7 separate regions of the Homo sapiens genome follow, and all the other regions are linked to region 7. Evidence: promoter capture Hi-C in 16 types of primary human blood cells and fetal thymus (Javierre and others, 2016). All regions are on one chromosome and are shown on one strand. The core of a region is centred on a gene start or on the middle of the fragment in contact, and the rest is flanking DNA. Distances in the headings are between cores, read along the strand shown.

What was found. The method cuts DNA at HindIII sites, captures the fragments that hold promoters and counts their contacts. A CHiCAGO score of 5 or more calls a contact.
Region 1: a fragment that was not itself captured here is called in contact with the fragment with the promoter of DGKI in region 7 in 3 of 17 cell types (M2 macrophages, M0 macrophages and M1 macrophages); the score reaches 6.2 in M2 macrophages.
Region 2: a fragment that was not itself captured here is called in contact with the fragment with the promoter of DGKI in region 7 in 2 of 17 cell types (M0 macrophages and M1 macrophages); the score reaches 7.6 in M0 macrophages.
Region 3: a contact is called between a fragment that was not itself captured here and the fragment with the promoter of DGKI in region 7, in 1 of 17 cell types (M1 macrophages). The highest score is 5.4, in M1 macrophages.
Region 4: a fragment that was not itself captured here is called in contact with the fragment with the promoter of DGKI in region 7 in 3 of 17 cell types (M0 macrophages, M2 macrophages and M1 macrophages); the score reaches 8.1 in M0 macrophages.
Region 5: a fragment that was not itself captured here is called in contact with the fragment with the promoter of DGKI in region 7 in 3 of 17 cell types (M0 macrophages, M1 macrophages and M2 macrophages); the score reaches 5.5 in M0 macrophages.
Region 6: a fragment that was not itself captured here is called in contact with the fragment with the promoter of DGKI in region 7 in 5 of 17 cell types (M1 macrophages, M2 macrophages, M0 macrophages and 2 more); the score reaches 13.9 in M1 macrophages.

What each region holds. Positions count from the first base shown.
Region 1 is chr7:137,691,683-137,694,755 of GRCh38, reverse strand. All of the region lies in intron 1 of DGKI (diacylglycerol kinase iota), which reads left to right. Among named protein-coding and RNA genes, the nearest start is that of DGKI, 150 kb to the left of the region's middle. The HindIII fragment of the contact is 3,834 bases long and covers 1-3,073 here.
Region 2 is chr7:137,673,597-137,676,669 of GRCh38, reverse strand. The region is part of intron 3 of DGKI (diacylglycerol kinase iota); the gene reads left to right. Among named protein-coding and RNA genes, the nearest start is that of DGKI, 170 kb to the left of the region's middle. The HindIII fragment of the contact is 1,703 bases long and covers 684-2,386 here.
Region 3 is chr7:137,611,430-137,614,562 of GRCh38, reverse strand. The region is part of intron 8 of DGKI (diacylglycerol kinase iota); the gene reads left to right. Among named protein-coding and RNA genes, the nearest start is that of DGKI, 230 kb to the left of the region's middle. The HindIII fragment of the contact is 1,064 bases long and covers 1,106-2,169 here.
Region 4 is chr7:137,632,445-137,635,612 of GRCh38, reverse strand. All of the region lies in intron 6 of DGKI (diacylglycerol kinase iota), which reads left to right. Among named protein-coding and RNA genes, the nearest start is that of DGKI, 210 kb to the left of the region's middle. The HindIII fragment of the contact is 640 bases long and covers 1,570-2,209 here.
Region 5 is chr7:137,710,704-137,713,963 of GRCh38, reverse strand. The region is part of intron 1 of DGKI (diacylglycerol kinase iota); the gene reads left to right. Among named protein-coding and RNA genes, the nearest start is that of DGKI, 130 kb to the left of the region's middle. The HindIII fragment of the contact is 737 bases long and covers 1,065-1,801 here.
Region 6 is chr7:137,654,403-137,657,540 of GRCh38, reverse strand. DGKI (diacylglycerol kinase iota) reads left to right here. Exons shown (of 33, transcript NM_001321708.2): 4 at 1,001-1,075; 5 at 2,753-2,809. Among named protein-coding and RNA genes, the nearest start is that of DGKI, 190 kb to the left of the region's middle. The HindIII fragment of the contact is 7,371 bases long and covers 1-3,138 here.
Region 7 is chr7:137,845,697-137,849,102 of GRCh38, reverse strand. It overlaps DGKI (diacylglycerol kinase iota), which reads left to right and starts at 2,129. Exons shown (of 33, transcript NM_001321708.2): 1 at 2,129-2,641. The coding sequence starts at 2,241. RefSeq lists silencers at 1,326-1,620, 2,105-2,154 and an enhancer at 2,789-3,290. The HindIII fragment of the contact is 3,155 bases long and covers 1,403-3,406 here.

The sequences.
Region 1 (3,073 bases), core at 9-2,508, 150 kb after region 7:
AGACAAGCAAAGTTAGTGCCCATATGGTATAAGAAAAAAGACAACAACACACTAGGTGATTAAGAACTCTCTTGGGGAATCAAACCAAGACACTGAGTAACTTCTTAGACAGCTGGTTCCTTTTCTAGAACAACAGGATGAGTTCACCAGTCTCTAATGTGTCAATCTTTAGGAGGTGTTCTGGGTAAGAGACTTCCTGATTCTCTGGTGCTTTTCTGCTCTGCAAGAAGAATCCTGATTCTGTTCTCACGTGCAGCATCACCCAGAGAGGGAGCTGGCAAGATGAGGATAGATAGAAAACGGGAGCCACATAAACCTACAATCAGACTGAAACTGGAACCAGAGGAAATTGAGAGAAATTTGCAAAGTGGGTAATTAGAAAAGGGTATCTCTGGCTTATTTGCATGTTTTCCATAAATTTTTTTTTTTTTTTTTTGAGACGGAGTCTCGCTGTCGCCCAGGCTGGAGTGCAGTGGCACGATCTCCGCTCACTGCAGGCTCCGCCCCCTGGGGTTCATGCCATTCTCTTTCCTCAGCCTCCTAAGTAGCTGGGACTACAGGCGCCCGCCACCTCGCCCGGCTAATTTTTTGTATTTTTAGTAGAGATGGGGTTTCACCGTGTTAGCCAGGATGGTCTCAATCTCCTGACCTTGTGATCTGCCCGCCTCGGCCTCCCAAAGTGCTGGGATTACAGGCGTGAGCCACCGTGCCCGGCCTTCCATAAATTTTTAAATTTCTATTTATGAAGAGTATATGCCACATGTTTCATTAAACACATTGTAAAAATATTAACACTATCATATGCCCTTTACGAATGTGGCAAAGGGATTCCATTTTAATGTTGACCACACAAAGCCGTTTTGATGTTTCTTAGGCTTCTTAACACTGGATTCTACCTTATTTGCATTTATTTTTAAAGAGCTGCTATGAAGGATTTCTGACTCTCTCAGGCAAGAATATCACTGAAATGTAAGGCATGGGATATAATTCAAATCATCCTAATCAGATTTCTCAACCCTTGATCTAATCAGCAAGCTGTTTTTCTTAGCTTCTTGGTCAAGTTCATTCATTAACTCAGAAAGCATTTCTTGAATATAGACTGTGTCTACCCCAGGGCTGGAATGTAATTAAGATTAGTAGATGGATTGAGCCCTGTCCTTTAGGAGTTTATAGTCTTATTGAATGAAGTGAAGAAAATAATATGATGCTACTTAAAATGTATAATGGCTTTTATATTTTAAATATATTAGAGGTCTTTCAGGTAATTGATATTAACTGTGATGTTGTATTATTGAAACTGCATTATAGGATATTTTCTTTTCATATCTATTTCACAGTTAATATCACAGTTCTTTTCAAAGAAGCATTTGTGATTATAGCCATCTCCTATGAAGCGTTGTTGTGAAATTAATAGAAAGAATCATTGGCATTTCATGGTTTTGCTGACCGTGGGCTTGAGAGGATTCTGAGCAGAAGGAAAGAACAAGTTGAAACCCCATTGATTTTTTTTTAATAGGAGCAAATTGCAGCATAAAACTACTGCCCCCTCATCCCACTCCCAACCACACACCAAGTTCTACTAGACTCTTAAATTCGTCATCTACCAGCAAGATAAATTCAAATAGAAAAATAACTTTCGCTAACTTATATTTGAGGTCTGAGATATAATAAAACTATTTTCTTATTTTGGAAGAAAATGTGTATGCATGTATGAATTATTGGAGAAAAGGATTTTCTCCCATGGTTATTTAAAAGAATGGAAAGTTCTAATCAGAAGTTATTTCGTACACCCTGTTGTACCTAAATATATTTTTTCTATTTGTATGTCCTTTTGTGAGGGCAATTAGAGTTACAAACTGGCAGCCACTTTCATGTTTTTTACTTATTTTTTTCTCCTAATTAATGTTTATGTGTGTAGACATAAAACCAACCTTAAATTTGTATCCACAAAGAGAAATAAGTGATCAACAAAAAGGCCTTACTTGTTTCTATTCCCAGGCTAGAAAAGAGTGTGATTTGACTGTAATTTCTTTCAGGGTTAAATGTTTGTATGTCTCTTTATCATATAGCCACATTATCTTTCATAGACACACGTGGCTTGCATCCTTGAATCCTAATTTGATTATTTCAGCAATTGGCTCCTCCTGGCAGTCCTAATTAGGAAGAGTAACCGGGTTTTGGCGGTCAGAGTCTACAAGTTCTGATGAGTTAAACTCATTTGCCCTGTGGTTTCTACTGGTGCCTGACAGTAGCGTTTTGTTTCCTCTCTTAAAAAAATTTTTTTGTATCAAAACTGTCTGGGACAGTTAATGAAAAAATGAAAGATCTGTGTTTTTCTCATTAAACCAAGATTTAGAAATTCTTCAGCCATTCTAAGAGTTTGCACTTGGGTGTGGTTTGGTATTTTTTGTAAGGACACTTAATTTAGGTTGTGGTGACTGTTAAGGAATCAAATGTAGAACCTGTGTATTCTGACTCTTCAGAGATCTGATTTTCTTATGAGGAAAACTGTAGCTCAGAGTCCCCATACAGAGCCCTTCAAAGCCAGAGAAAATCCTAATAAAAATGCTAAAGAAGTTCCTTCAACATAGGTGGAGGAAAACTGTTTTGAGATGAAAGATCACTGTATAAGATTCTTCCACTGTTACTTTCTTATTGCTCGATGATATGGAATATGCTTTGGGGTGAGGGGCCAAAATTGATGTTGCTAATTATTTGCCTTGGTGAAAGTGAGGAACGAGAATATTGTGTCATCATTAAAGGCCTCCATCTTCATAATGACCCTTTCGGGGATTATATAAAGCAAGTAAATTGTCTGTTACCCAGTGGGAGCTTTTGAAAGTAGGCTACCAGCAAGCTCGATGTGATCGCTTCTAACTACTGAAGACCTACCCCCTATATCTGGGACTTCCTGTATAGGAATACAAGAGGCTTAAAAAAAAAAAAAAAAAAAAAAACCCAAAGGTCTAGACACTTGCTGAGCTCTCTGACATACTTGGTAATTGATTAATGGTTGCACAATCCTGGATTCTTACTGGCTTCTACTCAGTGTTTCCTCAGGCTTGGGGGCTAC
Region 2 (3,073 bases), core at 286-2,785, 170 kb after region 7:
AAGCTTCCTCATAATTTCATACCAGGTACTTGGCCCTATTAACTCATATTACAAAACGTCTGAAAGATGAAGAACTCTCCTCCAAAAAAATGTTGGTTAAATGAAGGAATAAATCAGTGAGGAAGCTGAAGACCTAACTGCTGTAAGTTTCTTGAAGCTCAGTTTCTTTACCTATAAAGTGGGGGAAACACTGTTTTGAGGGTTTGGTGAGATGATACATAGAAAGGGCTTACTTGGCTCAGCAACTGACCTAATGAATTAAAGGCAAAAAAAGAAAAAAAAGAAAAAACCCAGGAAGGACAAGGACAGGAAATTTACAAAAGAACTACCAATTGCCAATAGATATCTGAAGAATACAAAGGCATCCCAATTAAAACAACTCAGGAGTCAACTTCATGTGCCTATTAAATTAGCAAAGATTTATAAAATGGTAATAGTTGCTGCTGGTTGGTTTAGGCTGAAATGGGCAGGCTCATCATCAGCTGCCAGGAGTGTAAGTAGATACACTGTCCTTCACAAAATTGGCAGTGTGTACTGAAAGCACTGAAAATCCTCTCAGTCTCTCTCCCCACCTCGCACTGTGAGGCGCATGTCATCTCTGGGCATCCCATTTTGAGAGAGACATTGGCAAGCAGCAGAGGACCCAGAGTGGGGTGCCCAAGTTGGTTTAGGGGATGGAAGCTTGTTGTAAAGAAATGTTAGGTTACATGGGCTACAGCTGAGTATTAGGAGCGAAGGCAGAGAGATGTCTTCCAGTATTTGAAGAGTTAATTTGAAGAAAAGAGAAGTGACTTGCTATCTGTTGTTAGAAATGGAAAAGTCATAGAGGTAGAATCCACTGACTCTAACTTTATAACAATAAACAAACATTACCTGGGAAACCTAACAATGCACACTCCTGTTTCCCTCTTTGCTCCAAATGCTGATTCAGTATGCTTGGAGTTGGACTTGAGAGTCTCCGATTTTTTTTTTTTTTTTTTTTTTTTGGATGTAGTCTTGCTCGGCTGCCCAGGCTGGAGTGCAGTGGTGTGATCTCGGCTCACTGCAACCTCCGCCTCCCGGGTTCAAGAAATTCTCCTGCCTCAGCCTCCTGAGTAGCTGGGGTTACAGGTGCAAGTCACCACACCCAGCTGATTTTTGTATTTTTAGTAGAGACGGGGTTTCACCAGGTTGACCAGGCTGGTCTCAAACTCCTGACCTCAGGGGATCCACCCGCCTCGGCCTCCCAAATTGCTGGGATTACAGGCATGAGCTACCACACCTGGCTGGGAGTCTGTGATTTTAACGAGCACCTCAAATAATTCTGATGCAGATGGGTCGCAAACCTAACTTTGAGAAATACCGTATGATAAGAAAGAACTTTGTCAGCCTGAGCTTCCCAGCAAGCGAACAAGGTGCCTGGAGAGATTGACTGGTGGGATGTGTGTTTGTGGATAACGTGGGTGGCCATGTTTCAAGGATGCTGTAGTTGGGGACTCTCAGCTGCTTTGGGCAAGAGGTCACAGAGATCTCCAGGCGAGTCTTTAGTTTAAATGCTCTGTTTGCAGTTTTCTTAGAACAACAGTCTTTTTTGGGAAAAAAGTATGCATAAGCAGATCATGTATTTATATTCTAATTTCTTTTAATGAACCACCTTTGAAGAAAGCCTACCTGTTGGGGCTGGGACTAAATTACCATAACCAGGTACTACCTGCAGGCTCCTAAACAAAGTACAGGCAGAGTGCTCAGGGGAGGAGTGAATCCATCATCTACGATGTGCCTTTCACTCCTTCCCTATTTTAGCAAAGCAAATGTCACAAGTAGAAGTTAAGAGAAGGAAGAAGTCAGTGTGGGTTGAAGCAGACAGAGGCAGCTTCATGGAAATGGGGTTCGAGCTCAGTTTTGAAAGATGGGTAAGATTTACATAAGTGATTTTGAAGAAGGAGAACATTTCGGGCAGGGAAGAGGAACATGAGCAGACTCAGAGGTGGGGCAAGCTCTGTACAAACGAGGTGGCAATCATGAGCCGTGCATGAGCATGTGTCAGAGAAAAATGGAAGTAAGAATGGAGTTAGGTTTTTTGAAACAAAACTTGGAGTGCATATTGTAAATACTGGTGGGCTTAGGAAGCATGACTATAGAATACATTGTCTAAACCAAGACACTTTTGAGGGTGAAAGTGGCTGCTGTTAATAATGATGCCGTAACATTAGGGATAAACCAGAACTGCATCACCCTAGCTTATGGGACATTAGGGCATCTATGTAAAACTAAAACTGTCCTGCAAAGCCGGGACCTCCTGCTGCCATGTGGATTGATATTTGGGGACTGATATTGGAGGGTACTGAAAGCCAGGCAATGACTTCCAAAACCCTAGAACAGCTGTAGGAGAGTTTGTTCCCAAGCTTCAGGGCTAAAACTAAACCACGTGACCTTTTCCTGTTCTACAGCTCTCTGGTGGCAACATTTAATACTGTAGAATACCTGTGAGCAGATACGTAATGGAATTAAATTTGTTCCCAAATTGGCAACAGTTCCCAAATTAGCAACTGTTTCTTTTTCTGGTCTAGATAAAATATAAAAGGATGCAAAAGTAATGAAATTGAAGTAGAAAGATCACTGTTTCCCAACCTGATTATGGGCACTGGAAACCTGAAATAAAATTCCAGCCAGAATCACTGTCGTTTGGTGACATTTATTTTTATGTACATTTATTCATTTATTCATTCATTTATTCTGTCAGTGTTTGTGAGCTGGGTTGAGTACCCAGTGCCTCACCGTTTAGCGGGCACAGCCAGATAGAAACTGTTCTCATGCTCTGGGGCTAGGCTATACAAACATGTTTAGCCAAATATTTGTACCTAAAGGAGCTCACCCCTCCAGTAGTAATCCCTGGAGTCCATACCATCGTGCACCTACTCAGACTTGAAAGAAACTTGCCTACATTGATATGCAAATTATACACCCACCGTGGTCACACAGACCTGAATAGGCACAGATGGGTAGCATGGGTGGTCAGAAGGAAATAGACTTTGTGTGGACTGACCTGGGTTTGAAAACCTGCTGTTCCATTTATGTACTGAGTAAAGTTGGG
Region 3 (3,133 bases), core at 388-2,887, 230 kb after region 7:
TAAGAATCAAGCCTGGATCTGTTGATATATTTGAAGTCCAAGTTATATTTAAAGTTACAAATGTCAGTGTTTCTCTTTCGGACTGAAAATATTACTAGACAATATTTTGATTGGACAGGCAAGTTAAAGATGGTCAAATACCAGTGCATATACTTGGAGCTGAGGGATTGAGACTTACGTGAATTTTCTGTGGGGTCAAGTTGTAGAAGACCACAGTTGGGAAAGCTTTTACAAAACTTATGTATCATGAGATGACATCATTTGAAAAAATATTTTGTACTTGGTCCCCTAAATTTTCCAAACTGTCACTTTTTTGTAACTTTCTCATGAATCTCACTGGGCTGCTCCTATCTTCTAAAAAGAATATAAAATGGATCCTCCATTCTCTTTCCTTAATACAGCCTGTTGTGACTTCATAGTACTGAGTGGGAACAAGCTGGTTTCTTTGAAAGAATGATAGTGCTCAATCTTTTATTGTTTCGTTTGTAGTAACATGAGTAATATATAAATATGCTCCCTGTAAAAATTAAACATCTCAGATAAGAGAGTCTCCTTTCACCAGCATTTAAAATGATAAGCATCTCCGCTGTCTCTTCCTATGATATATGCAGAGTTTTTACTGTGCGTTTACATGCATGGAAATGCACCCACAGAAGAAATACAGAACCACTTCGAGTGTAAGGGTGTGTGTTTTTAATAAATAATTCTTCACATAATGCTTTAAAACTTGCCTTTCTTAGTAAAAAAAGATTCTTGGGGAAAAGTCTGTTATTATATGTAGACTTAACTCATTTTTTAAATTGCTGTATGTATCCCATGCTGTGGATATATCCTAGTTTATTGATCCATCTGCCTACTGGTGGATATTTATATTGTTTCTAATGTTCTACTTATAAACAATGCTGCATTCATTTCTTCATAGCCCTGTATGAGCTTTCTTCATAATAGTCCCCCTTTTTTTGGTTTATCTCTTCTGGTTAGATAATCTTCTTAAAATACTGGGAACCCATGAAATGTAATAGCTAATTTTGTGCAACGACCAATAATATCCTGTAAATTAGCCTCAAAATTGCCTGAACCATTTCCTTTGGTGAATTCTAAAGCTTCATTAGTACTTGTGATTTAGTCAAATAGGCCTGGTTGGAGCTGTTGGGACCCTGTCTGTAACTTTTGGAATAAGTTTTCTTTATCCTTCTGCCTTCCCATCCTCAGAGCAGCCTTTGTTCCCTGGCACAATGGGAGCCCAGCAGAGTAAGAATGCGCTTTAATAGACTAAGTCCATTACTCTCTCTCCTACTGTCTACCAGAGTTTTGTCCAGTATATGATGGGGGGGAGACTTTATTTGGGATGACAAAGAAGAGCGAACAGATCTCTTCTCTTGGGATCTGTTATTATAACCAGTCATTTGTGATCTTATAACCTGGAAAAATCCCTGAAGATTAATAAGAGGTAGTTAAGTTTCAGTCACAGTTGAGTGATTTACCCGTAACTATTTCTTAATAGCCCAGCAAGGAGTCATAAGCATGATCAGGATTTTATTGATAGGATTATTTCTGTGGCAAGGTACAATTATCCTGGTATGAAGTACAGGAAAACAAAAAGCCTTTTTATTTAGGTCTTTAACAAAAGAGCAGGCACAGAATGTCTAGGGGGCGACTGCTGTTGGAATCAGAAGAATGCAAAAATCCAAGTGAGGGTACATACAGCATTTCACTGTGTTTTTAGTGTTGATCTTGCAAAGCGAATGCTTTTATCACCGAGTTAGCTGCCCTTGATATAATAGAGATGATTTGTTTTGGAACATAGCACAAGTGTTACAGGTTTCTTGCATATATCACCAACAAATTCTACACAGTAACTTCTTGACATAATTTTAACATTCTCGAAAAGCGTGCTCTTTTGTTTAACTCTCTCAACAACACTGACCCAGGCAGGATAAGCGATCCTGTAGATTATCAAGAGTAGGTGATTTATTTCATCATGGTCAAAACATATACAAAATCTGCCTTCAAACCCATCTGTTCCTAGAGGTAGAGATAGATACATATTTATACAAAATAGAGATATGTATTTATACAAAAATAGAAGGGAGCCATGGGATTTTGAGGTATGCTGTGAAATTCCTACTATTTATCTTTTGTGTTTGACTATCCGTAGGGCTGTAAGCTTACTCAGAGCTCACATAGATGCGTCCAGGTACTGTAAGTCAACGACTGTGCTTGGTCTCTGCCCTGTTCTTGTTCTGTGAAGTGAAGAAGGCCTCAGATGCATTTGGTTTGGTGAGGCTAGAAGCACTTGTATTTGCTACCTCTGTGTTACAAAAAAAAAAAAAAAAAAAAAGCCCGTTTTGTGTGTCTGTTCCCTATAAGAATTGAGTTCTTTGCCTGCTCTGTTTTCAGACATCAAGCCTTACTTTAATGTGTTTTTCTAACTCTGTGCTCCCCATACGTGCTTGATCATCAAAATCACCTGAAATACTGTGAGTTCTACGATCAGACAAGTTTAGGAAACAATCTTAGCCTGATGCGTTAGATCTGTCTCATGGAGTTTAATTGCTGACATCCTGTCAAGGACCTAGGTCCATAGCATGTTCCTGCAAGCACTTGGTGTCTGGCATTGCTCTTGGCAGTAAATGAATTAAAACTACAAAAAAGTTAGGAGGCAAGCATTCACTTCCCAAGGATCCTTTCCCAAATCAGGAGAGGCTCAGTAAATGCTGTGAATTATAGGAATATTTGTTCATTATTTCAACAATGATTCGAGTGTACACTATGTGCCAGGAATTTGTGCTCGGTGTTGGGGACACACAGCTGAGAATGAGGCATTATTTAGAATGAGCTAACATTTACTGAAGTGCTCATGGTGGGATGAATACCCAGCTAACTGCTTCATGTACCTTTGCTGGTTATAACTTCATAACTGTCCCATGAGGTGGGTAGTGTCACCATCATTTTAAAATTAAGAAACTGTTATTTCAGAAGTTTGACTGACTTGGCCAAGGTCACTGATCTCACAACAGGGAGATTCAGAGTCCATACCAGACGTATATTCCTGTCTCTGTTCATCTTCTGCTTAACACAATCTATGTGTCTCCTCACTTTCCTCTTTCTACTGCCATCACTCTGTGATAGA
Region 4 (3,168 bases), core at 640-3,139, 210 kb after region 7:
CAGTGGATCTCATGGTCACATGGCCGCTTCTGCACCTCTATGCCATAAAATAATTTCCCTGGTCTGACACAATGTTGTGCAGGATCCTATGTTCGTGGGTCACACATTTCGTAAGCCCTTGCATAGTGGTGCTGACTGAGGCCCTGAAGAAGGGAGAGGTAAGCCCATATCCTGAATATGCATTGATTCCAGTCAAGATGAGTTGCTGCCCCTTCTAAAGCGGAGGGGCTTCAGTGTAATCAGTTTGCCTCAAAGTAGCTGGTTGTTCTCTCTGAGGGATGATGCAATATTGGATTCTCAGCTTTGGTGTCTTTTGCTGGCAGGTTAGAAATTCAGCAGTGGCAGGAGCCAGCTCAGTTTTGGTGACTGGCCACCCATGCTATTGGACCCACATATAGCATCCATCACTCCACCAAGGGTACTGCACTTACAAGCCCATTGCACCATCCATCAATGGGATGGCTCATGACACAGTATGGTACCTGCGTTGTGTCTAAGATTTTAGTTCTTACAAAGGGAAAGCTCTCTGGTAGGAATTAATGTGCAATAATCTTCACTCTTTGTACTTACTTTCATATGTCCTTCCTTATACCTCTTCCCTAGACCTCCTGTTTCCCTCCAGGGCCCTGGCCAACCAGCCTTGCCATTTATCACTGCCTGTGCATCATTATATATTCTATGTCAAGCCACCTATCTTTTCACATAAATGGGATGACAATTTGCTTCACCTGAAGTTATGCCCATGAGGAGGATTTCTTATTATTCCTGTCTCTAGGACCCACTCCTGAGTAGGCTTCAGTGCAGCAGTAGTTTACTTTTGGCCTGGACGTATATACCAAGTTGATCCATGCATGAACCAATCTCAGCATTTTCCTCCTCTTTGAGCTCGTCATTCAGTACTCCCATTTTTCCAGAGGTGAGTTGAATGAGAGACCTGGTACTGTAATAATAGTGGATAATGTGGGTGATCTGAGCCACCTACTCATGCATCCCTGGTACTGCTTGTTCCAGATCTCAGATGGTCCCACTTACTATAACAATGGATTAAGGCTGGGCTCACTCAACCTTATGATGTAGTGATCTGACAGAACTCAGCTCATGACACCTGATGATTCATGGACAGGTATTTCTCCACCAGAGTACAGTAACCTGCCAGAAAATATTTTTGAAAGGTGTATAGTTCCCTCTTGCAGATAGCACAACCTTGTTTCAGAATCCTAGAGTCTGTGTTGATTTTCCTATTGGTGCTTGTTATAAGCATCACAGGGCATCTTTTCTCCTTCTCTAAATTTCTAATCACATGGAGTGACAGGGATTCTTTCATTGCAGGCTGGACCTGCTGCAGCACTGTTTCATGCTCTGGGCCCCATTCTAAGCTGGCAGCATTTAATGTCATCCAATAAATGGATCACATTCCTAAATGTAGAATGTGCTGCCTCCAGAACCCAGAAAGGCCAAATAAAGTGCTGTGTTTCATTCTTAGTGGTTTAAATTATGAAATGCAATAATTTTTTCTTTAGATTGGAGAGGATATTCTAGCATACCTTGGACTACTGACCCCTAGAAGCTTCATTGACATGGGGGACCCCTGACTCTTCATAGGGCTTATGTCCCACCTTTCTTCTCACCAGGACCTCTGATGTACCTTCCACTTCTTGCTCATCTGCTTTAATGTGATGCTGCTGATATGGTGGACCAAATGATGTTCTACAGAATGTTCACACAGTTCGGGTTCCTTTGCATTAGATCTGGATAACATTCAGAAGAGTTGAAAGCCCTGGTACATGCCTGTAAAAATGTACTGTTAACCCTGAAAGCACTTGCAAATAGTTTTGAATTCTCCTTTCAGAGAGGGATGGAAAAAATTCATTTGCCAAATGTCATGTACTTAAGGCTGAAATATTCTAAATTTGGCACAGTGGCTGCAAATAGAGTGTACTGGGTTAAATTTGTGATATTCAGGCACCATTCTCCAGTCTTTGGTTTTATGGGATCTCAGCTGGTGAATTAAATGGGGATATGTTGGAGTACACCACCTCTGCCTCCTGCTTCCTTTAGTCTTTAAGGGTGGCACTTAGATAATTTTGGAAATGTAAACACAATACCATCGTCAGAGCTTTCAAAATTAAGATAAATTTAATGCCTATTACTTCTTAAGAATGTGACATTGATTTTGATTTAGTTATGGCTAGAAGGATGGTTTGAAGCTTTCACTTGGGCTTCCTCTTACACAACAGACCAAGAAACCAGTCTTGGGGTTGTGCCAGTTTCCAAGTCTGTTCACTCCACTTACACAATTGAGGACAAAGGAAATTAATACTGATGGATTTGTGGAACCAGTAGACTCTCTGAAAACCAGCCCTGGTCTAGGACTCCTGCTTTTTTTTTTTTTTTTTTTTTGAGAACGAGTTTCGCTCTTGTTGCCCAGGCTGGAGTGCAATGGCGCAATCTCAGCTCACCACAACCTCCGCCTCCTGGGTTCAAGCAATTCTCCTGCCTCAGTGGCCCAAGTAGCTGGGATTATGGGCATGCGTCACCACGCCCGAGTAATTTTGTATTTTTAGTAGCGACAGGGTTTCTCCATGTTGGTCAGTCTGGTCTTGAACACCCGGCCTCAGGTGATCTGCCCACCTCGGCCTCCCAAAGTGCTGGGATTACAGGCATGAGCCACTGCCCCTGGTTAGACTCCTGCTTTTTTTTTGTTTAACTGGGCCTCACGTTTGTTTGTTTGTTTGTTTGTTTGTTTATTTATTTGAGACAGAGTCTTGTTTTGTCACCCAGGCTGGAGTTCAGTGGCATGATCTCGGCTCACTACAGCCTCTGCTCCCTGGGTTCAAGCAATTCTCCTGCCTCAGCCTCCTGAGTAGCTGGGACTACAGGCGTGTGCCACCACGCCCAGCTAATTTTTTTGTATTTTTAGTGGAGACGGGGTTTCACCATGTTGGCCAGGATGGTCTCGATCTCCTGACCTCGTGATCTGCCCGCCTTGGCCTCCCAAAATGCTGGGATTACAGGTGTGAGCCACCATGCCCGGCCTGTATCTTTATTTTAATAGGGGACCATTAGATACCTGGTGCTGCTTCATACCCAGGGTATACATGTCAACTTGTACAGTTGTCCATTAGTCTTTAGAATATTTGGACATTTCTCTCTCTCCTCAGCATACAA
Region 5 (3,260 bases), core at 184-2,683, 130 kb after region 7:
ATCCCCATTCAAAATTGGGCAAGTGGCCAGGCACAGTGGCTCATGCCTTATAATCTCAGTGCTTTGGGAGGCTGAGGTGGGAGGATAAGTTGAGGCCAGGAGTTTGAGACCAACCTGGGCAACATAGTGAGATCCCATATCTACAAATAAATAGATAAGTCAGAGATGGTGATGTATGCCTGTAGTCCTAGCTACTTGAGGCACCGAGGTGGGAGCATTGCTTGAGCCTAGGAATTTGAGGCTGCAGTGAGCTATGATTGCACCACTGCACTCCAGCTTGAGTGACAAAAAGAGACCCTGTCTCTAAAATAAAAATTAAAAAAAATTGGGTAGGTTAACTTACAGCTTAATAAGTTAATGGCAACCTCTACAAAATTATCCTAACAGTAATTAAACAGATGTTTTATGTAGAATTAGAAAAGAAAATAGTGGTCATAAAGAGCTAGCATGAGTTCCTTAAAAATAAATGTGTATTATGTGTCTCATTTCATTTATTGGATGGGGTTATTATAGTGATAGCTTTGGAAAATTCCATAGACAACTTGTGTCTAAATTTCAGCAATGTATCTGATAATATTTTGTGATTTCCCTGTGGTTAAGGTAGAAACATATAGATAGGCTAAAATTAGGCCAAATCACAAATGTTACATCCCACCCTACTCCACCCTATGTGAATATTATAAATTAATTCCAAGCTGGAGCCAGGTATCTATTTGAGCAGGGGTCCTGCAGTTGGTTCTGTGCTGGTTGCTATGTTTATCAATGACAGGTGAATCATACATGAATGCTTATCAACTTATCAACTTGCTCTTATTCTCCTCTGGGAAAGACAGCTGAGACACATGGTGATAGAAATCAGATTTAGATATCCATAGACTGGAACGATGGTCCCATATCAACTAATATAAAGATTATAAGTTTAGAAACTGTGGCAATTAGCCTTTCACCACTTGTGCTCTAGGGTGTTTTGTCTAGATCTTTGTTACTTAGAAATTCCAAGCTGAAGCTGGCTGACCATTTTTCAGGATTCTTCGCAGAACAAGTTGCTAAGTGGCGAGGAAGCTTGAATTTGATTATTTGCTAACCCTGAAAGTCTATTATTCTTTGGAATTACTTGGAGAAACTGTTTTATGAAACATATCATCATCTCAATTGTCTATCATACAGCTAACTCACCTATCTCATCCATCAAACTTAGTTTCAAATAACTTGTTGCTGTTGGAATAAAATGAAATCTATCCTCAAAATATGACGACTATTAACATTCAGAATCTTCCAAAGAGTGCCTGCAGGTTCAGGAGGCATTTCCAAAAGAGGAATCTTCAATGCTTTAAACAAGATACTGGAATCTCAGTTAAATACCATTTGCTATTGGGAGAGATGTAGTGTGTATTTTCTAGGGTGACAGCTTTGGACAGCAGCAATTTGACTGTGTAAAGGCTTACATATCTTTCTATTCCTAATTTTATAATGCTTAAAATATTTTTATTATTGCACATTCTTGAGATCATTACTAGAATTTGTTGTTAATATGGCACACTTTCAATTTTGATTAGAACACAAAACATGAAATGTTCTAAATGTATAATTAGAATAAATCTGATGCTTGGTTAAAATATTTTTATTGAGAAGAGAATATATAGTAGGATACAACAAAATATTTGGAAATTATAAAGGGTAATAACCCAACAAATATCTGAGTATTCCCTACCCATTTTAATAACAAAGGGTACCATCGTAATAACCTCTGAAGTCTGTTGCTTATTTTCCTTAATCTATTCCTGAGCATCCCCAATAAGCTTAAATTTTTCACTTATTGTTCCCTTGCTTTTTATTAACATTTAACCAAATATTTGTATCTTTACTAATGATAGCAGCATAAAACTTTCATATAGTGATTTCTATGTGCCAAGCACTTAAATGCCATACATTCATTTAACTCAAAAGCAATCCTCAGAAGCAGGTATCCCCAGCCAGGCATGGTGGCTCACGCCTGTAATCCCCAGCACTTTGGGAGGCAGAGGTGGGCGGATCACGAGATCAAGAGATTGAGACCATCCTGGCCAACGTGGTGAAACCCCGTCTCTACTAAAAATACAAAAACTAGCTGGGTGTGTTGGTGGGCGCCTGTAATCCCAGCTACTCGGGAGGCTGAGGCAGGAGAATCGCTTAAACCCAGGAGGCGTAGGTTGCAGTGAGCCGAGATTGCACCACTGCACTCCAGCCAGGTGACAGAGCGAGACTCCGTCTTAAAAAAAAAAAAAAAAAAAAAAAAAAAAGTTGGTATCCCCATTTTACGGATGAGGAAATCAAGATATATAGAGATTAACCCGAATTCCAGTTCAGGCAGTCTGACTGCAAATTCTGTGCTCTTCCCCTCTGTTCCATGCCCCCTGTCAAGAATACATAGTATAGCTCTATTTGCATTTAAAATGTTATGTAAATGAAATACTACTGTGTGCAATCTGCAATTAACACTTTTAGTCACCACTGTGTTCTTGAGTTTCATATGTTTTGTTCTATGCAACTGTAGTTCATTTATTTTCATTTGTAAAGAGTATTATTTCATTGTATGACTATATTGCAATGTATTTATCTGTTCTGCTTTCATCTGACATTTGAGTTGCCTTTATATTTTTCTGTAATAAATAGTGCTGATATGATATTTTAACTATCATCTTGTGTGTATATACCAGAGATTATCTAGGGTGCATATCCTGGAGTATAATTCCTGTGTTTATGTGCACCTTCAATATTCCTATAGAACAGCAAGCTGTTTTCCATAGTGATGAACCATGTTGTCCTCCTTGTGACAGTATGTAAGCTCTATATCTTGCCAAGAGGTAATATTGTCACACTTTAAAATTTTTGTCAGTCTGTTTAGTTTAAAGTGGTAGAGGAATGATGAGGAGGAAAGAAGAAAAGGGGGAGGAGGAGGACGGGGATGAATTTCCAGTTATCTGATGGATCTGAACATGTTTTTCTTTTTTTACTGTTAATATTTGGTTTCTCCTTTTGTAAACTACCTGTTCAAATCTTTGGTTCACTTTTTGGGGGAGGATGTTTATCTTTTTCTTATTAGTATCTATTAGTTGTAGAAAACATCTTTTATTTTGTGGCTAATCTTTTTACCTTCTTCATGGTGTTTTTGATGAACAGAATTATTTAATTCAATTGAATTTATAAATATTTTCCTTCTAGGATTTCTAGATTTTTGTGTGTGTGTGTTCTATTTATTAAATACTTCTGTTCACTTTGAT
Region 6 (3,138 bases), core at 557-3,056, 190 kb after region 7:
GCTGAACTTTCCTATCTTAGATCCTGCATGACACTGGCAGTCATGAAATGTAGATTCTGCTCATTCATCTCTCTCCATGCAGTCCATTTTTTATCATTAGAGAAAAAGATAAACTTTAAAAAGTTTTATTTCATTATAATTTTAAACTAATACTGACTGTCAGAGAGGCCGAATTGTGTAATGCTTATAAGCATGAGCTCTGAAGCCAGACCACTTGGCCCTGCTGTGCCTTAATTCACTGACCTTGGGCAGTTTTCTCATCAGTGAAATGGAATTAAGAATAGGGCCTGTTTCATAGGGTTGTGAGGGTTAAGTGAACTACCATTTGTGAAGTGCTTATAAGAACAGATAGCAAATACTATATTCCTATTAGCAGCGTTTCCTGCTTTTGTTGCTATTCTTATTATTGTTTCCTGGGCGTAAAAGCTGAACTTGCCTTCCTTTACTTCTGGAAGATTTGGGCAGAAACCGAAGTAACTTAGTCTAGACTCATGCCTGGGATAGAAGCCTAAAATGACTGGCCCCTGGAAATCTAGACTCTTTGGCAATAGGGAAAGAATGCCTGTTTTCAACTTAGATCTGAGTTTGGATGTTGGTCTTGCCCCTTAGCTACTTGAGTGATAATGTAGAAAATATTTTAAAATGGAAGAGAATAATGCCTATATTGTAAGGTTCTGAAACTTAGAAATGACAGAACAAAGAGCCAGTTCTTGTTATATGCTCAAAATATTGGAGCTATTATTATTATTATTTGAAGAGACAATCTAGCCCACCCTAAATCATGCAGATGTGGAGCTACTTGGTGAGTGCAGAGACTGTTGATAAAGTTTGTCAGTTTATTCAATATTTAAGATGAAGTTTTAAATTTGCTTTGTAATAGAAATAATTACAATGTTTGCTGTATTTATGTATTTATTATATATGCCCACTTTAATACTAGGGAACTCTTCAGAACAGACTGTTAACATTTCTTTTTTGTCTTTTGAATTGAATATTGTAGAAATCAGCTCTCAGGAGGAAGTGTGCAGTCTGTAAAATCGTCGTCCACACCGCCTGCATTGAGCAGCTAGAAAAGGTAAGAGCGCGCCCCCTGCTGCAGTTTTGTTACATTGCAAGTATTTGGTCTTCAGAGGCCCGGTGTAAATTTCCAGTTCCAACTTTTTGAAAACAATGCCCTTAAAAAAAAGCTGGAAGTCCAACATTATTACCAGATTACTAATGGAAAGACAATGTTTAAGGGTCGTTCACTCTCTTGTTTGCTGAAGTGTAATTTGATATCATTTTACGTTGACTCTTGGGAAAAGGAAGAACACAGTTAGATGGAAAAGCCTGGTGTGCACTGATTCTCTTATTATATCATCTCAGTTCAAGCATTACTATCCACCCATAGGCTGTTCCACAAGCTGTTTAAGAAGGAAGAAGTTCTATAAGCTGTTTATAATTGTTGTTCACATATATCTGACTTGTGTGGTTTACGTCTTCCTAAAGTGCCTGCAAGGGAGCGAGCCACGCTGGAAGCCGGCTCTCACTCTGCTGGGGCAGTGCTCCTCCTGTTGCTGCTCAAATGTGTGGGTGGGGCTGGAAGTGACATCCCGGTGGTGGTGTGCCTCCAGAATCAGTGGATTCGGCAAAGTCCATTTATTTGTCATTTAGGGGATGGGAAAGGCTCCAATAGTGAGTTGCCTGCCATCCTCTTTCCTTTCACACTTCCCACTACATTTTAATGTGTGTGTTTCTCTGTGTATTATCTATGTTCTTGAGCTGTCATGGGTAAATGCATTGAAATATTTTAGTCCCCCATGACATTCATGTAGTTTCACTGACATGACCAGTTGATCCTAGCTGATATCTTGTGGCAATGACTACCAACATGTTATCTTAATATTTTCTTTTCTGCCCCAACTTCACTTACTCATCTCTGCCTTCATTCTTTTGCTCCTTTCACTTTATCGAGTAGCTAACCGAAATGTCAATGTGCCTACTAGGAGACCTCCACATCTAAAAGAAAAGCAGTGCTGAATCCTTTTATAAAGAATAACTCTGGGCTGGGTGTGGTGGCTCATGCCTGTAATCCCAGCACTTTGGGAGGCCAAGATGGGTGGATCACGAGGTCAGGAGATGGAGACCATCCTGGCTAACACGGTGAAACCCCGTCTCTACTAAAAATACAAAAAATTAGCCAGATGTGGTGGCACGCACCTGTAGTCCCAGCTACTCGGGAGGCTGAGGCAGGAGAATTGCTTGAATCCAGGAGGCGGAGGTTGCAGTGAGCTGAGATCACACCACTGCACTCCAGACTGGGTGACAGAATGAGACTCCATCTCAAAAAAAAAAAAAAAGAATAACTCTGTTGTCTTTGAATAATTGTCATAATACTAAAAAAACTCAAGTTTATATTTTCTACTTTTACAATCAGAAACCCAGCTGGGTAGTTTAAGCTGCCAGTATCTTTCCTCTGGCTCTTTCTTATCTCAGTTTCTCAAATTTATGGTGTAAGAGCATTATCGTTTAAAGATACTTAGATTTGATTTGTGAGAATGAAGGAAAGGGGTTGGAGATATAGAATCACCTGGGATCTCTGTTGATTATCTAATGTGATGATTTCAAAAGACTAAGAAGAGTATTATTCCTTGTTCTTTGGAGGTTTTGCTTTTCAGTCTCAATATCTGTCACTGTTTTTTTTTTTTTCAGGTAATTCAGTCTAGTCTGATGCTTATCTCTAATATAATATACTTTTCTTTTTGAATGACAGATTAATTTCAGATGTAAACCAACATTTCGAGAAGGAGGCTCAAGGTCACCAAGAGAAGTGAGTATTTCAGAGCTTGATTTCAAGTATCACCTTTGATTTCTCATTGATTCAGTGGATTCATAGATATTCACCAGGGAATAAAAAATAAATTCTATCTCTTTCTGTTGCATGCCAATTTTTTGTTAACACATCAATAAGCACAATCAATAAAATCTTCAAGTCTTTTCAACATGTGCACACTGGACTTTATTCTCATAAAATGTACTGGGGAGTTTAAGGTCTTACCAAATGAACCAGAGACTAGAGGAAGGTGGTAGTGATAGAATTGAAGGGGTAAGAAAGAAATAGACTTTTATTACTTATTTATTTGGAGACAGAGTGTCGCT
Region 7 (3,406 bases), core at 880-3,379:
AACACTTCATGATGGTCTATGATATACACACTTATGCAATTATGTTACCTGTTTATTATTACTGAAGATATAGTGATAAACAACATATAGCGTTTATATACATGTGGGATAAATAGACACATGACAGTTGCAGTGGTCCAAGTTTAGTACAATGGTGCAATGGGAGCTATGGGAGGTACGTCCATCACAGTCTAGAAAGGGATCATCAACGGAGGCTTCTAGTGGGGAGAAACATGGGGAGAGACATGTAAACTAAAATCCGATGGAGGTGTAGAGTAGTTGGCTTGGCAAATCTTAGGAAAAGGAGAAGCAAAGAAGAGGAGACAGCAGACTCACACGTGCAAAAATGGGAATGGAGAGAGCAGAGAGCGTGTGGGGTTTGCACAAAGAACAGTTCAGAACCTCACTGTCATGACAGTATGAAGGGAAAGCGGGCAGTACTCCACCACCCACCAATGTAGCCCTCAAAATCAGCTGAGTTGTTTGAACTTTACCCTAACGGCAATATGACATAATCAAAAGATTTTTAAGTGGAGGCGTGAAAAATCAGAAGTATTTTGGGGCTCACACTTGAGATTGGATTGGGGAAGATACGGCTAAAAGTAAGTGGGAGTAATGAGGGGGCTGTCCCAGTAATTGGGTTCAGATGACATTTGCTTGATTTTAGGGATGTACGAGATATTCGTGGATCTTGTGTTGAAGCACCTAATACACGATGTCCCTTCTGAAGACGGGTGCATTAAACTGGGGTGAAGCACAAAGGCCACTGAGCAGCCTGGCTTGACTCCTGGCTTTGCCAGTTTGCATTTGCACGTGTCCAAGCCCTTGAGAGGTGCTGTGAAAACATAGAGGTGGATGAGGGAAGTGCTTATACAGCACATACCGTATAAAAAGAGGGCTTCATACTTGCTAGTTGTTTTAATTTTTATTATTACTTTTCCTCGCTGCACATGGAAATGTCTTTACCTTTGTCTTATTATAAGGTACATACGAGGAGAGTTACAGAACATGGGTGTTAGAAGAGATTTGACATATCTGTTCATTTTCCTAATTTTAGTGATGAGAAAATAAAGGGAAAGAAAGCAATTTAGATTTTTGCCAGTATTACAATTCTTTGTTCACGGGCACACCACGCCAGCCTGAAACTGTTCATTGGTCTGGTTCTCTTACCACCTCGTATATGTAGGTTTATAGTTTGGTTACGAACACCACCTTGTCTTAACCATAGATAGTTCCTGTGTTTGCCGACAGCAGCGATTTCTTGTGTGGAAACCCCTAATTTGGGAAACAATCTGTTTTAAACACTTTGTAGCACATCACTCAAACCGCACAGTTTTCGATAATCTTAGAAACAAAAACTGGGGTTGAGGCGGACAGTTAAATTCTGCAGACACCACAAGCTTGGATTCGTTTCAGCAGTCGGTCCTAAGTGGTTTGAAGCCCCTTCCGGGATGCCTCTTCTTATACGAACAACGCAGCGGCGCCAGGCGCCAGGGTCCTCACTTCTGCCTCCTGGATTTCCTCCGCCTTTCTGCTTCACCGAGGGCCCTGTGATCCGATTCCATCGAATTAACCGCTGTTTACCGAGGGTCTGCTGCGCCTAAGGAAGGCACCGGGCGACGAGCAAGGCGGGGACGCAGTTTGGGGACGCAGGGGTCCGGGCCCCAGTCCAGAGACAGGAGGTCGGCGCTTCGACTTGGCACCCGCCGACGAATTCACTCCAAGGTTCCCACTGGCGGAGCTCCTGCTACCTCCCCCCTCCCCTAAATGCAGCTCCCGCTACCTTCCCGCGCCCAGGGGCTGCTGCCTGAGCCCAGCTCTGCTCACTGGAGGGCGGCGGTGGAGAGGGTGCTGGCCCAGCGTCGGCAGCTGGGCTCAGGACCAAGGTGGGCGCCCGCCGGTCCTGGTCCCCCCAGCCTCACGGTGCAGGACCCAGGGCGCGGCCACTCGAGTTCCCCGGACGCTCTCCTTCCTGATGCTCGCTGTCCCTGCCCTGGCGTCCCCAGCCCGGGGTCGCAGCCTGTCCTCCTCTCTCTCCCCCTCCGCCGCAGCCCGTCGCCTCCGGGCAGAGTTCATGTTCAGCTTGGGCTTTCGCTCGGGATTTAGGAAGAGGCCGGCGGGGCTGGAGGGTGCGGGCCGGCGCGGGAGGGCGCGGGAGGCGGGGAGCGGCGGCCTCTGATTGGCCGGGGCGGGGGAGTGAGCGGAGTTTCCCACAATGCCCCGGTGCGGTGCAGCCGCGGATGGATGCTGCGGGAAGGGGCTGCCATTTGCTGCCCCTGCCAGCGGCGCGCGGACCTGCCCGCGCTCCTGCAGCCGCCGCCGCCGCCGCCGCCAGCCCGCCCGGCCCCTGCAGCGGCGCCGCCTGCGCTCCCTCCGCGGCCGCCGGAGCGGGCGCCATGAACCCCAGCTCCTCGGCGGGAGAGGAGAAAGGGGCGACGGGCGGCAGCAGCAGCAGCGGAAGCGGCGCCGGGAGCTGCTGCCTGGGCGCCGAGGGCGGCGCGGACCCGCGGGGCGCAGGGTCAGCCGCGGCGGCGGGGGCCGCTGCCCTGGACGAGCCCGCGGCCGCCGGCCAGAAGGAGAAGGACGAAGCGCTGGAGGAGAAGCTGAGGAACTTAACTTTCCGGAAGCAGGTCTCGTACAGGTAGGTGCGGGGAGCCGGCAGCCGAGACAGGTGCGCCGCGGCGGGAGACCCACTCTTCTACCCAGCAAGGGGCGCTTCCGCGGAGTTGGGCACCTCTCTGTTTCCACGCCTCTCCTTCCCCCTTTCCCCCTCTCCTCCCGGGGATGTCTGTCTTCTCCCCATCCTATCATTCCAGGCTGGAGGGCAGCAACGCCTGCTTTCCCCTGTGGCAGGAGAGAAGCACTGGGTCCCTAAGGTCAGAGCAACAGAAATTTTGTCTGTGTGTGTGTGTGTGTGTGTGTGTGTGTGTGTGTGTGTGTGAGAGAGAGAGAGAGAGAGAGAGAGAGAAAGAGAGAGAGAGAAAGGGTTGCAGACTCAGTGATGCTTAGTTTTCTTAAGAGAAGTCGTCAAAGTTGCCCCTAAGCAGGTGTCATCTTCAACCACCCTTCCCCCACCTTCCAGATTTCGCTGGATGAACCTTTGGCACTAACTTGACAGCTGAGATCACTCCGACAGGCAGAAAAGAATAGCACTACACTGAAGAGAAATCCTTATGGAAGTTGGACCTGCCTCGAAATCCCCCATGAAGGAAGAGTGGGTTTATGTCTGTAGATGCGCCACTGGTTATGGGGGCTCCATGCCTGCGTGCTCCTTGCCTCTCTCCTGGCTGGAGGAGGGTGTGGGGAGCCCGCTGGCAAGCTAGGGGTGAAGGTGAGAGTGGGGACCATATTTGCACCTAAGGATGAGTGTATGTGTAAGACAAGGACAGTGTGGGATCAATGGCCT